Linked DNA regions of Homo sapiens: all the other regions are linked to region 4. The links are contacts of gene promoters, found by promoter capture Hi-C in human tissues and cell types (Jung and others, 2019). All regions are on one chromosome and are shown on one strand. The core of a region is centred on a gene start or on the middle of the fragment in contact, and the rest is flanking DNA. Distances in the headings are between cores, read along the strand shown.

What was found. Contacts are between HindIII fragments. The study calls those that stand out against the background at their distance.
Region 1: a contact is called between a fragment that was not itself captured here and the fragment with the promoter of CELSR3 in region 4, in 1 of the 25 tissues and cell types used here (dorsolateral prefrontal cortex).
Region 2: a contact is called between the fragment with the promoter of FBXW12 here and the fragment with the promoter of CELSR3 in region 4, in 2 of the 25 tissues and cell types used here (lymphoblastoid cells and spleen).
Region 3: a contact is called between a fragment that was not itself captured here and the fragment with the promoter of CELSR3 in region 4, in 1 of the 25 tissues and cell types used here (adrenal gland).
Region 5: a fragment that was not itself captured here is called in contact with the fragment with the promoter of CELSR3 in region 4 in 1 of the 25 tissues and cell types used here (IMR-90 fibroblasts).

What each region holds. Positions count from the first base shown.
Region 1 is chr3:49,110,985-49,113,684 of GRCh38, reverse strand. It overlaps USP19 (ubiquitin specific peptidase 19), which reads left to right. Exons shown (of 27, transcript NM_001199161.2): 18 at 1,056-1,196; 19 at 1,283-1,401; 20 at 1,637-1,774; 21 at 1,872-2,185; 22 at 2,320-2,430; 23 at 2,519-2,700. Among named protein-coding and RNA genes, the nearest start is that of QARS1, 7.6 kb to the right of the region's middle. The HindIII fragment of the contact is 5,151 bases long and covers 1-2,700 here.
Region 2 is chr3:48,370,769-48,373,468 of GRCh38, reverse strand. It overlaps FBXW12 (F-box and WD repeat domain containing 12), which reads right to left and starts at 1,250. Exons shown (of 11, transcript NM_207102.2): 1 at 1,149-1,250; 2 at 612-785; 3 at 124-161. The coding sequence starts at 701. The HindIII fragment of the contact is 16,322 bases long and covers 1-2,700 here.
Region 3 is chr3:48,961,792-48,964,491 of GRCh38, reverse strand. All of the region lies in intron 4 of ARIH2 (ariadne RBR E3 ubiquitin protein ligase 2), which reads right to left. Among named protein-coding and RNA genes, the nearest start is that of P4HTM, 27 kb to the left of the region's middle. RefSeq lists an enhancer at 303-950. The HindIII fragment of the contact is 8,208 bases long and covers 1-2,700 here.
Region 4 is chr3:48,661,581-48,664,280 of GRCh38, reverse strand. CELSR3 (cadherin EGF LAG seven-pass G-type receptor 3) reads left to right here and starts at 1,395. Exons shown (of 35, transcript NM_001407.3): 1 at 1,395-2,700. The coding sequence starts at 1,647. It overlaps LINC02585 (long intergenic non-protein coding RNA 2585), which reads right to left and starts at 513. Exons shown (of 3, transcript NR_111921.1): 1 at 468-513. RefSeq lists enhancers at 1-9, 70-429, 744-1,329, 1,200-1,389, 2,501-2,700. The HindIII fragment of the contact is 20,539 bases long and covers 1-2,700 here.
Region 5 is chr3:48,400,417-48,403,116 of GRCh38, reverse strand. No RefSeq gene overlaps it. Among named protein-coding and RNA genes, the nearest start is that of PLXNB1, 28 kb to the left of the region's middle. The HindIII fragment of the contact is 5,455 bases long and covers 1-2,700 here.

The DNA.
Region 1 (2,700 bases), core at 47-2,546, 450 kb before region 4:
TGGAGGTTGCAGTGAGCAGAGATTGCACCACAGCACTCCAGCCTGGGTGACAGAGTGAGACTCTGTCTCAAAAATAAATAAATAAATAGATAAAAAAATAAAAATAGGGCCAGGCGTGGTGGCTCATGCCTGTAATCCCAGCTCTTTGGGAGGCCAAGGCTGATGGATCACAAGGTCAGGAGATCCAGACCACCCTGGCTTACATGGTGAAACCCCACCTCTACTAAAAATACAGGAAAAGTTAGCCGGGCGTGGTGGCACATGTCTGTAGTCCCAGCTGCTCAGGAGGCTGAGGCAGGAGAATCGCTTGAACCTGGGAGGCAGAGGTTGCAGTGAGCCGAGATCGCGCCACTGCACTCCAGCCTGGGTGACAGAGTGAGACTCTGTCTCAAAAATAAAATAAAATAAAATAAAAATAGACATACACATGAGTATGCCTGTGACTGTACAAAAACAGGCGATGTGCTGTTATTTTTTCTGTGCAACAGAAGTGCCCTCAGTTCCTAGCCATTATCAGGGTTTATTCCCCTTTGTGGTGGTGGATCCCAACTGCATTTCCCTTTTTAGACAAGGAGCTTGAGCTGCAGGACTATCCCTATGTTCGCTCTGCCTCTCCCTCTATCCTGCTGCTCTCTCCTTTTATCCCAGTTGTGTGTGCTAGCTCTCCCCAGGGGTTCCTAGCCTTTAGCCTGACAGTGTTGGTTTTCTTAGGGGTAAGAGTGGGGAGGAGGCTCTTTGAATGTGGACCCTCCATGATAATATGTTACAGTCTTATAAGGCTATGCTAGTTATAGCAGGGCAGAGTCCCTCAGTGTGGAGAGCTGGTGTGGTTGATATCTGCCTCACACCTGGTCTTTCAGGCCCTCTGATGCACCAGGCTCCTTATGGCATTGGGCACTGAGACAGGTGCCAGCAGAGGCATAAGCCTATTTGGGCCTACAGACCTCACCACTGCCCACATAGACCCAAGGCAGGGCCAAGCCTTCTTAAACTCTGGGGCAGGGCTAGGGAAAGGGCTTATCCTCACGTGGGATCTGTGTGTTCTCTGTCCCCAGGTAATTAAGAATCGTTTTCATCGTGTGTTCCTACCCTCCCACTCACTGGACACTGTGTCCCCATCTGATACGCTCCTCTGCTTTGAGCTGCTATCCTCAGAGTTGGCTAAGGAGCGGGTAGTGGTGCTAGAGGTGCAACAGGTGAGTGGGGGCCAACCTGATGGCACAGCGCCCTGGTGGGTGGGGCACTTCTTCCTGGTCTTGCTGAGCCAGACGACCCACCCTAGCGCCCCCAGGTGCCCAGCGTCCCCATCTCCAAGTGTGCAGCCTGCCAGCGGAAGCAACAGTCGGAGGATGAAAAGCTGAAGCGCTGTACCCGGTGCTACCGTGTGGGCTACTGCAACCAGTGAGGACCCCCATGGTCTCCCCTACCCTTTCTTTCCACCTTCCATGTGCCACCCTGCTCCTTCCCTTCACACCAAGGCACATATGCTTAAGCTTTCTACTTGCCACCCTACTTTACCAGGCTCTGGGGGAGGCAGGGCTGGCGTACCCAGTTCCCAGGGACTATGACTAGCCCCCAGTATGGAGTCATAGGAGATGGGGCTAAGGGCCTATCCTTGTCTTCCTCTTCCCGTCAGGCTCTGCCAGAAAACCCACTGGCCTGACCACAAGGGCCTCTGCCGACCTGAGAACATTGGCTACCCCTTCCTGGTCAGTGTACCTGCCTCACGCCTCACTTATGCCCGCCTCGCTCAGTTGCTAGAGGGCTATGCCCGGTAAGTGCCCAGTGGTTGGACTAGAGTGGTGTAGGTGGGGGCAGAGGTGCTAGATGGGCTGGTCAGGAGTCTTACTTGCGTTGTTCTCTGTTGCCAGGTACTCTGTGAGTGTATTCCAGCCACCCTTTCAGCCAGGCCGCATGGCCTTGGAGTCTCAGAGCCCTGGCTGCACCACACTGCTCTCCACAGGTTCCCTGGAGGCTGGGGACAGCGAGAGAGACCCCATTCAGCCACCTGAGCTCCAGCTGGTGACCCCTATGGCTGAGGGGGACACAGGGCTTCCCCGGGTGTGGGCAGCCCCTGACCGGGGTCCTGTGCCCAGCACCAGTGGAATTTCTTCTGAGATGCTGGCCAGTGGGCCCATTGAGGTTGGCTCCTTGCCAGCTGGCGAGAGGGTGTCCCGACCCGAAGGTAAGATCCAGTGAAAGGCTCTAGAAGCTGGGGAGGAGGATAAGGGAGGATGGAGGGGGCTGTTGTTTAGGGCCTGGTGGGCCTGGTGAGGCCCTGATGGGCAGGGAAGCTTTGATTATCATGTTCTCACACAGCTGCTGTGCCTGGGTACCAGCATCCAAGTGAAGCTATGAATGCCCACACACCCCAGTTCTTCATCTATAAAATTGATTCATCCAACCGAGAGCAGCGGCTAGAGGACAAAGGTGTCTGAGGCTGTGGGTGGGAGCCATGGGGTGGGTTGAGCTGGCTGTTCTCCACAGCTGCATGACCTCTCTCCCTGCGAATCTCCAGGAGACACCCCACTGGAGCTGGGTGACGACTGTAGCCTGGCTCTCGTCTGGCGGAACAATGAGCGCTTGCAGGAGTTTGTGTTGGTAGCCTCCAAGGAGCTGGAATGTGCTGAGGATCCAGGCTCTGCCGGTGAGGCTGCCCGGGCCGGCCACTTCACCCTGGACCAGTGCCTCAACCTCTTC
Region 2 (2,700 bases), core at 1-2,500, 290 kb after region 4:
TACTCACACTAACTTTCCTGTGTATATCTCACAACACAGCCACACAGGCCTTGGGACACAGCATGGGTGCGCAGTCAGATGATCTCCTCTCCCCTTCCCTCCTTGCCCTTTCCCTTCCCTTACCTCCACAGGTAATCACTGTCTGCAATCCTATTCCAATGCTATGGGAGAGAAAGGAAGAGACAAGCAGGCAATCAGTTACATCAGAGAGCAAGGGTAATCCTCTGCTATTATTTGTTCTGGGAGCTGGGCCCGCACAGGTTAATCAGATGGGATTCCAGCTCTCAAAGCACTCTCAGTGTGGGGAGATAAGGAAATGGTAACAACAGAGACCTATCACTGCTAATACAGGCACTGGGTATTCCCATGAATTCACAGGAAGAAGTGTTGATTTCCTAGGGCTTGAAATGGGAGCCTCAAGGACTGTTTAGTCAGCACAACTCCTGGATATCAGCTTGTCCTTTTCGTTTAACAGAATATGAGGCCCTCAGTATGAAGAATGCTAACCCCCAAAGCCTCAGTGTAACCCTCTGCTATTCTGCAAAGTGGTGCTCAAACTGGTCGAGAGAAGCAGCGGGCTTGGGGGGCAGTGGGAGGTGGAAGGCCTTTACCTTGTTCACCTGGGAAACCTGCAGCAAGCCGAACAGGTCCAGGAAAGAGAAGATTCGCTTCAAAGCTAAGTCAGGCAATCGGATCTCCATTTCATGCGGCCTGAACCCACATCCACTTTCCTTTCTCCTCTCCGGGCTGCTCTGAATTTATAGGCTTTGCCAAAGTCTGCAGCACTTGTAAAGATTTTCACCCATGCCCATCTGTGTGCGGTAGAAACAAGCTGCAGGTGTGCAGACTCCCGGGCTGACCTCCACCCCGGCCTCTCCCCTGGGGCCTGATCCACACAGCTGGCAGGCATCCCTACCTAAACCCACTTGTTAGTGCTGTTCATTGTTTAGAGGAGCTCAGCAACACCTGTGCGCTGTGAGCTGGAGGTGCAGAACCTGGGGCAGCCCCAGTTGCAGATGAAGTTGTCAGAACCCTTTAGGAAATGTCACCGAGTGCACTCACTTTGATCAGATCTGAGTGTCTCTATGACTCTATTTAAGTTCCAAACTCCTGGAATTGGAGTCTGCTTGCCCTGTGTCTGTGCCTACCTTGGGATCTTGAATCTGGTGAGTGGGGCTCATCTCTCAGCGCCAGCATGGCCTCTGGGTTTCTACCTTCTCGCATTTAACTTTGCAGTGGAGGAGAAAGAACGTGCCAAGCTGGCTTCTCCACAGAGGTCCGCCCAAAGGGAGCAGGCCTTGTCTGGGATGGCTCTCCCAGCTGGTGGCTTTCCCTGGGATGTGACGCTTTCCCACAGTTACAGATCTCCCAAGAACCTGACAACTCATTCTGGGATTTTCTAAAGACCGTGTCATAGCCTGGGTGTTTGTGTCCTCTCAAAATTCCTACGTTGAAATTCTAACCCTTGGTGTGATTGGAGGTGGGGGGCCTTTGGGAGGTAAGTGGGTCACAGGCAGAGTCCTTATGATGGGACCAGTGACCTTATAAAAGAGACCCCAGAACGCTCTCTAGCCCTGTTCATATCATGCGAGGACATGAGAAGGTGTCAGCTGCAACCTGGAAGAAGGCCCACACCAGAACCTGACCGTGCTGACAGGTGACTCTTGGACTTCTCTCCTCCAAAATTGTGAGAAATAAATTTGTTTGTAAGCCACCCAGTCTATGGTACTTTGCTGCAGCATAAGACAGGGGTCCCTCTGTGAGGCTCAGTGGCCAACCCTTCTTAAAACTGCTGCCTCCAGGCAGACACACGGGAGTGGTTGTCGGGAGTCCCATTTATGATACAGTAGTAAGAGAGAGGAAAAATACAAATTGACATGGTGAGGAAATAAAAAGGAAAAGCAAAGACCAAGAAGCACCTAGAGGGGCGTGGGGAAAGGCGAGTCAAGGGGTGTGTGGAGAGGAGTGAGAAAAATACAAGGGTAAAAGATTTGTATTCCATAAATAGGAAATAATGCAGAGAGAGCCAGAGCCGTGGAAGGACACAGGAAGACAGAAAGCTTGGAACGGACTCTATTGTAGAGGAACAGAATTAATGCAAAGATATAGAAGGCTGAGAAATAAAACACTTTAAAATATGACAAGGGAAGAGAAGAAACAGTAAAATAAAGGATATTTTAAAAGTATTAAAGCACAAATATTATAAAATACACAGATAGGAAATATAACTGTAAGTGGACTGAGACAGAGTAGGAATAAAATGGAAAAGAGGACAGATGAGAAAGAGGCAAACATAAGGAAACTGAAGCAAATTGCCGAATGAGTGAATGAATGAATTTGAAATAGAGGAACAGAGGCCAGGCACAGTGGCTCATGCCCGTAATCCCAGCACTTGGGGAGGCCGAGGCGGGTGGATCACCAGGTCAGGAGTTTGAGACCAGCTTGGCCAACATAGTGAAACCCTGTCTCTACTAAAAATACAACAAATTAGCTGGGCGTGGTGGCGGGTGCCTGTAATCCCAGCTACTTGGGAGGCTGAGGCAGGAGAATTGCTTGAAGCTGGGAGGTGGAGGTTGCAGTGAGCTGAGATTGCGCTACTGCACTCCAGCCTGGGCGACAGTGCGAGACTCCATCTCAACAACAACAACAAAAAAAATAGAGGAACAGGAAGGTGTGTTGGGGGGTGGTGGTGGCGGGGTG
Region 3 (2,700 bases), core at 61-2,560, 300 kb before region 4:
ATACAAAAATTAGCTGGGCATGGTGGCACGTGCCTATAGTCCCAGCTACTTGGGAGCCTGAGGCAAGAGAATCGTTCGAACCCGGGAGGCAGAGGTTGCAGTGAGCTGAGATTGTGCCATTGCACTCCAGCCTGCAAGACAGAGCGAGATTCTGTCTCAAAAAAAAAAAAAAATTCTATATATATGGCTGGGCGCAGTGGCTCACACCTGTAGTCTCAGCACTTTGGGAGGCCGAGGTGGGTAAATCACTTGAGGTCAGGAGTTTGAGACCAACCTGGCCAATATGGTGAAACCCTATCCGGGAGTGTTGGCTCATGCCTGTAATCCCAGCTACTTGGGAGACTGAAGCAGGAGGATCGCTTGAACCTGGGAGGTGGAGGTTGCAGTGAGCAGAGACTGCACTACTGCACTCCAGCCTGGGAGACAGAGCAAGACTCTGTCTTTAAAAAAAATAAAAATAAAAATAAAAATAAAAAAAATAACTGGCAAAGGATCAGTATTCAGAGTAAACAAAACTCCTAAAAATCCATTTGGTTCTAGGAACTGGACATGGGAGAAGGGGGAAGGATCCATTTGGAATAACAAAATAACTCAATAAAAAATGGGGAGAAGACTTAACAGGCATTTCAAAGGAGGAGGCAGCACAAATGGCCATTAAACATATGAAAAGATTCTCAACCTCCTTAATAATACAGGACCATTGAAACAATTAGATGCCATTTACATCCACCAAACTGCAAAACTTTAAGTCTTACAATATCAGGAACACCTATATACCACTGCTGAGCGTGTAAAGTGGTAAATCACTCTGGAAAACAACCTGGAATTATTTAGCAAAGACAAAACTACACGTATGCTATAGCCAATAATTCCTTTTCTATATTTAACTCCAGAAAAATTACGTGACAGTAAGAGTTACCTACAATAATTTTCCATTTATAACAGAATTATCAAGTGGCAATAAAAGTGCCACACAAAGCCCAGGTCAACATATTTCCAAGATACCAGGAATTGGAGCAGAAAAGAATTATGTCTCATCTATGTGATTTCTACCTAGTCAGAATGCTTCCCTCAGCTATCCTTATTGAGGGGCCCGTTTTATTCCTAATTCCCACAGTAATATTTTAAGTATCTTTTGCCATCCAAATCTCCACTCCTGAGTTATGCTGAAAGAGTGTGGGCAGTGAGAGATATCCTATTGCCAGAACCTATGTGGTTCCAGAGTTTTGGGCAGTAGTATAATAATAAGGCAGCAGCAGTTCATCTGCAATTCCATCTAAATATATTCCGTTCTTGAGTACACAGGATGAGTGCAGTTAGTGAATCAGGAACGAATTTGCTCTTTCCTGACTGTGCTGAGCTGCTCCAGCTGGTATGTCCTTCCCAGTTGTGTTCAGCCCGGAGAAGGAAAGGCACGATCTTCCTCTGTAGATAAATTCTACTAAAAATACAAGAATTAACCAGGCATGGTGGCAAGTGCTGGTAATCCCAGCTACTTCATAGGCTGAGGCAGGAGAGTTGCTTGAACCCTGGAGATGGAGGTTGCAGTGAGCCAAGGTTGTGCCACTGCACTCCAGCCTGGGTGACAGAGTGAGACTTTGTCTCAAAAAAATAAAAATAAAAAAAAACATACCATACGAGAAAGGAAGATTCACTGCAGTGTGAAAGAGTAGGAATGGTAACAAGTGCTTCTCACCAGAGGGAATTTTGCTCCCCACGAGTTATTTGACAATGTTTGGAGACATTTTGATTGCCAAGGACTTAGAGGTGTGGCTTCTAATAGAGCCCAGGGATGCTGCCAGACATCCTACAATTCACAGATCAGGCCCCCCACAACAAAGAGTTATCTAGTCTAAAATGTCAATAATGCTGAGGATGAGAAACACTGTGCTAGACAGGGGCACACGCCTCCGAGGGTGAGCATAGGAGATCTCTACAGAGGATGCAGAGGAGGAGGTGCCCCTTTTCCTGACAACTTGTAAGACATCTTGAGACTCTAAGGTCTGTATCTTAAGATCTCTAGTTCTGGAGGAGGTGGAAAGAAATACTCAAATACACTGCTGGTAGAGGTGGTGGGTGGTAAAGTAGCCTATATTTTCTTTCTGTTTTTTTTTTTGAGATGGAGTCTCACTCTGCCACCAGGCTGGAGTGCAGTGGCACAATCTCGGCTCACTGCAACCTCTGCCTCCAGGGTTTAAGCGATTCTCTTGCCTCAGCCTTCTGAGTAGCTGGGACTACAGGAGTGCACCACCACGCCAGGTTGATTTTCATATTTTTAGTAGAGAAGGGGTTTCATCATGCTGGCCAGGCTGATTTCAAACTCCTGACCTCAGGTGATCCGCCCGCCTCAGCCTCCCAAAGTGCTGAGATTACAGGCATGAGCCACCACGTACAGCCAGCAGCCTACATTTTCTAAAGGAAATACAACTCGTACTATGATACAATCCTCAAGTTGACGTATCCAAAAGAAGTAAAAGATGTTGGCGCGTGTTACCTAGAAAGGCACTGATTAAAAATTAACAATGGGAAAGAAAATCTGAATTCACTGTCCAACAACAGAGGTTTGGAAAAAGTATGGAATATCTATGATAGAATACTGTGCTAGTATTAAAACTGGGGTAGAAGAATATACTGAAGACATGGGGAAAGTTCACAACATATTAAGAGAAGAGGATGTAAAATAGAATCCAATGTTTTAAA
Region 4 (2,700 bases), core at 146-2,645:
GGGAACAACTGGACACCTGTTGCCTGACCTTGGTAGCCACAAGGGGCGCTCGGGAGGTGGAACCCGCAGAAGCCCCGCCTCCCGGAAGCGGAGCAGTCAAGGGGCGAAAGGATGCGCCGACTGATTGGTTGATGGTGATGTCATAGGGACCGTTCGGGGCGGGCCAGAGGCCTTGGCCAGGAGTTCCTCGCCTGTTAGAACCAGGATCCACCCCATCGCGGGAGCCGCACCCTGTGGAGCGTTCTGGGGTCCCGGCCCTGACCTCTTCCTGGGCTTCGGGATGCCCGCGTCCTCTGCACCCGGCGCTGCAGCTCGTTATCGATTCCGCCTTTGGAGGCCGGTCCGTATAGTGTACCTCCCGGACTCTCTCACGGTTAGCCGGCAACCCGCGGAGCCCCCTCCCCCATGCGATGAGTCCGCCGTGAGGGGCGGGGCCTCCCATTGTGCCAATAGAAACAATGACTGACCGATTGGAGTGCTCCGCGTTCACCCCTCGCCTCCGCTCCTCTCGTGACGTCTGTTGCGCCAGGTCCACCCATTGGCCTGGCGAGACCGGCGCGTGCCAGGAGTTACGCAGGGAGAGCTGGAATGCACCGAGGGTGGGGGGAGGACTGAGTTTCTGTGTCAGTCCCTTCAAGGGGTTAAGGCATGCGGTCGTGACGGACGAGGGGCGGGGACCCGAAGAAGCGGGGCCCGCAGCCATGGGGCAACGCCGGGCTCCACGTGGCATCCCAGAGCACTCGGGACTCGCAGCCTGGGAGGGGGTGCAGCCTCCAGTGAAGGGGCCCCGAGCCCGGGAGACTGCTGGGGACCAGCAAGGCAGGGAAGAATTTGGCCTCTGCTCCCGCCTCGGGAGGGTCATCTCTGGTCCCTGCTCCGCAGGGGCGATCCAAACAAGCAGGTGGTCGCGACATGTTTCATAAAACTAGCTGATGGGATAGTTAAAGCTATTGTTCGGGGTGCTGGCACCCCAGACCCCTCTCCAGCCATCGTCCCCTCTACCCCAGGATTTCACACAGTACCCCCTCCCAGAGCTATGAGAACGCTCATGGGCACCAAAATTTCAGACCAAAATCCGGGACACGGTTCAGAACTAGTGGTCAGGAAGGGGGAACAAGAGATCTGGAAGGACAGAAAAAGGCTGGGAGACGGAGCTGGGACAGCGCCCTAGAAGGAGGGAGGTGGGTGAAGGCGGCGACCGAAAGTGGGGAGGGCGGACCCAACGACGGCGAACCTTCGCGCTCTGTTCAGCACCAGGAGCAACGCTCACGTCCTCAATAAAGATGGCGGCAACATCTTCGGTCCTCAGAGCTGCCATGCGCGATGGGTTGTACCACCGTGTTTCGGGCGCCGGGGCAGAGGTGGAGCGAACCATCGGGGCGGCCGGGAGCCATGTTGGAGCGGCGGGAGGCGGCAGCAGCGTCGGGGATGCTGTGGTGGGGGCGGAAAAAGCCAGGGCCGCACGCCGGAGGGGCTCCGGCCGCGGAGTAGATGGTGCCCAGAGGGCGGCGGGGGTGCGGAGAGACAGGCGGAGGGGCGGGGGCCCGGGGCGGCGGCAGGGGCCCGGGAGGGGGCCCGAGCGGCGGGGCCAGCCCAAGGCCCGGACCGGGGCGGGGGGCGGTGGAGGCCGTGCAGGGAGGCGGGGGATGATGGCGAGGCGGCCGCCGTGGCGGGGCCTCGGGGGACGGTCGACCCCCATACTCCTGCTCCTTCTCCTCTCTTTGTTCCCCCTCAGCCAGGAGGAGCTGGGGGGCGGTGGGCACCAGGGCTGGGACCCAGGCTTAGCTGCCACTACGGGGCCAAGGGCGCATATCGGTGGCGGAGCCTTAGCTCTTTGTCCGGAGTCTTCCGGGGTCCGGGAGGATGGGGGGCCTGGCCTGGGGGTCAGGGAGCCTATCTTCGTGGGGCTCCGAGGGAGAAGGCAAAGCGCCCGGAATAGTCGAGGGCCCCCTGAGCAGCCGAATGAGGAGCTGGGGATTGAACACGGCGTCCAGCCATTGGGCAGCCGCGAACGAGAGACAGGACAGGGACCAGGGTCTGTGTTATACTGGCGCCCAGAGGTCTCCTCTTGCGGGCGGACAGGACCTTTGCAAAGAGGTAGTCTGTCACCAGGGGCTCTGTCCTCAGGGGTCCCGGGCTCGGGGAACAGCTCGCCCCTCCCTTCAGACTTTTTGATTCGGCACCACGGTCCCAAGCCGGTGTCCTCCCAGCGGAACGCTGGGACAGGCTCCCGCAAAAGAGTGGGCACCGCGCGCTGCTGTGGGGAATTATGGGCAACAGGGAGCAAGGGTCAGGGCGAGAGAGCCACGACATCCGGAGCAGAAAGGACAGCCCCCCGGCGGAACTGTCTTCCAGGGGCCTCGGGATCTGGCCCCGAGCTGGATTCAGCACCACGCACGGCGAGGACAGCTCCTGCATCAGGTTCAGCACCCCGCGAGTCTCGGACAGCTCCCGAGCCGGCGCCCAAGCGCATGCGCTCCCGGGGTCTCTTCCGCTGCCGCTTCCTCCCGCAGCGCCCCGGGCCGCGTCCCCCGGGACTCCCGGCCCGTCCTGAAGCCAGGAAAGTAACCTCGGCGAACCGGGCACGCTTTCGTCGCGCCGCAAACCGCCACCCGCAGTTTCCGCAGTACAACTACCAGACGCTGGTGCCGGAGAATGAGGCAGCAGGCACCGCGGTGCTACGCGTGGTTGCTCAGGACC
Region 5 (2,700 bases), core at 111-2,610, 260 kb after region 4:
CCTCCATAACCCAGTGACCCTTAGCATTTCCTCTCGTCTGGCACAGAGACCACAACCTCCCCTCGAGGTCTTCATTGAGTGTTTAGAGAGAGACAGACTGATAGAATTCCAGGAGGACTCCTATCCCCTGCCTTTTTTTGGCCCTAAATAAAGCCATCCACTGTAGGGTTGCCCCTACAATCCACAAAGTCCTTGTCCCTAAGGAGCCATGTTGGTCTTGTCTGTGCCGGGGGTAGTCATAGCTGCTATTCTTCGCTGTGGCTCCATTGTCCCTTCTTTCCCATTTCTGCCGGATGTGGGGACCACAGTCAGGTCAGCAGCCAGGTGCCATCATTTGGGAGCATGTGAGCTTGGATGCTCTGGCCAGGTTTTCATAGCCACCCAGAATGGTCCTGACTTTTCCCGTTGGAGACCATGGAATGGGTCTCCATCTTGACCATCTCTGGGAGCAGGGTGGATGGGAAATCCACTTGAGGGTGGACTTCAAGCAGACACAGAGGGAAGCAGCCTTGGTCAGCACCACAGACCTCGACAGAGCCATGCCTCTGTTCCAGAGGCCTCTCTGTTCCAGGTTCAGGCCCCTGCAGGTTTTAGGGGTAGGTGAAGGCTCCCGGGAGAGGGGGGCCATGTGCCTGCAAGCCTGGGCACGTGCCCGCGGGAGGGGTGAGTACTGAACGTGCTTTGAGTCACTCACTGAGTCATGGCTCAGCCGCCACAGAACATTGTTATAATAACAGACATAGAGAAGAAAAACCTGGCACAAGAAGATAGGAAATTCTGTCTTCACTCCAAACCATGACCAAGAATGGAGATTCCAACACCAGCAAGAATTTGTGATCGCTTAACTTGGGTCATGACCACAATTTCAGCATAGAACATTTGTAATTCAGTTTGATCAATCTTTTCCTAATTTTTATTAAGACTGCAACGAAAGTGTGCCCTCATTATTACATTTTTCACAAACCTGTTAGCATACAAAGGGCCTTTGTTTCTCATTACCACCCGGGGCTCCTTAAGGCGTTTTATGGAGTGATGTGCTTTATTAAAAAGCGTTTTCACCAACTTAAAAGTTGGAATAATTGTCCAAATGGTTACATGACCCAGGAGTTCTATATTTTTATTAATTTTCTGATACTGAAATAATCGTGCTAATTAAGATAACAGCTGAATTTATGCTGATGAATGTTGGAATTCTTAGAAGCCACCTGAAACCTTCCAAATGGTCAGGACCTGGATCCCACTGGCCAGTGCCAACAGGTGACTCTGGGTGGTGCTGGGGGATACAGGGAACCTAGCTGTGTTCTGCTTGGCACCAATGGCTGCTGATGCATGTGTTTCCTCCACCAGGTTCCCTAAGGATGCCACATTGAAGAACAAATACACCCCAAACTACCTAGGTCAGCTGACTGGCGATGTTTTATGGATCTCTCTTTAAAAGTGTTCTGTCGGCCAGGCGCAGTGGCTCACCCCTGTAATCCCAACACTTTGGGAGGCCGAGGCAGGCGGATCATCTGAGGTCAGGAGTTTGAGACCAGCCTGCCCAACATGGCAAAACCCCGTCTCTTCTAAAAATACAAAAAATTAGCCAGGTGTGGTGGCGGGCGCCTCTCATCCCAGCTACTCAGGAGGCTGAGACAGGAGAATCGCTTGAACCCGGGAGGCGGAGGTTGCACTGAGTCGAGATCGCGCCACTGCACTCCAGCCTGGGTGACGAGCAAAACTCCATCTCAAAAAAAAAAAAAAAAAAGTGTTCTCTGTCTTAATTAAGGATGATGGTTTATCCAATTCCAAATGTTTACCAAAAATCTAAGATAAGGATATCACCATGATGTTTGAAAGAGAATTTATGCCCTGGTTGTGATGTTGGGGTTTTATTGATAAGAGTTTCAGTTATCTGGATGATATGTGCACGTGTAAGGAAACAGAATGGTTTGCCAGTTGTCCAGGTGGCCATGAAGAGAACCTCTGGAGGTCTAGGAATGTGAAGCTCAGATTTTGGAAACCTGGTCCGGTGTCCTGGGCCACAGGTAAGTGGCTGAAGCTGGTGGTTTGCTGCCATCTTCTGGCCATAGTGTGGAATTTATCAGAAGCAGCTACCAATGAGGGTGTCTGGAGCTCTATAAATTGCAAGCCTGGGCAAGATAGCCAGACCCCATCTTTACGAAAACTGTTTAAAAATTAGCTGGGCATGGTAGCACACATCTGTAGTCTCAGCTATTTAAGAGGTTGAGGTGGGAGGATTGCTGGACTCCAGGAGTTTGAGGCTGCAGTGAAAGATTATGCCACTCCACTCCAGACTGGGTGACAGTGAGACCCTGTCTCTTCAAAAAAAGAGAGAGAGAAATCACAACAGTGGAATTCAGTAGTGCTGGAGCTTAGTGAGTAATCTTACCCTGTCTTTAACGTGAATTCTGGTTTTAGGGTGAGCTATGTCTTAGGACATAGTTGAGATAACAGTGAGTGACTAGTCAAGAAAACAGCCGGGCACAGTGGCTCACACCTGTAATCCCAGCACTTTGGGAGGCCAAGGTGGGTGGATCACTTGAGGTCAGGAGTTCGAGACCACCCTGATCAACATGGTGAAACCCCATCTCTACTGAAAATACAGAAATTAGCCGGGTGTGATTGTGTGCACCTGTGATCCCAGCTACTGGGGAGGCTGAGGAAGGAAAATCACTTGAACCTGGGAGGCAGAGGTTT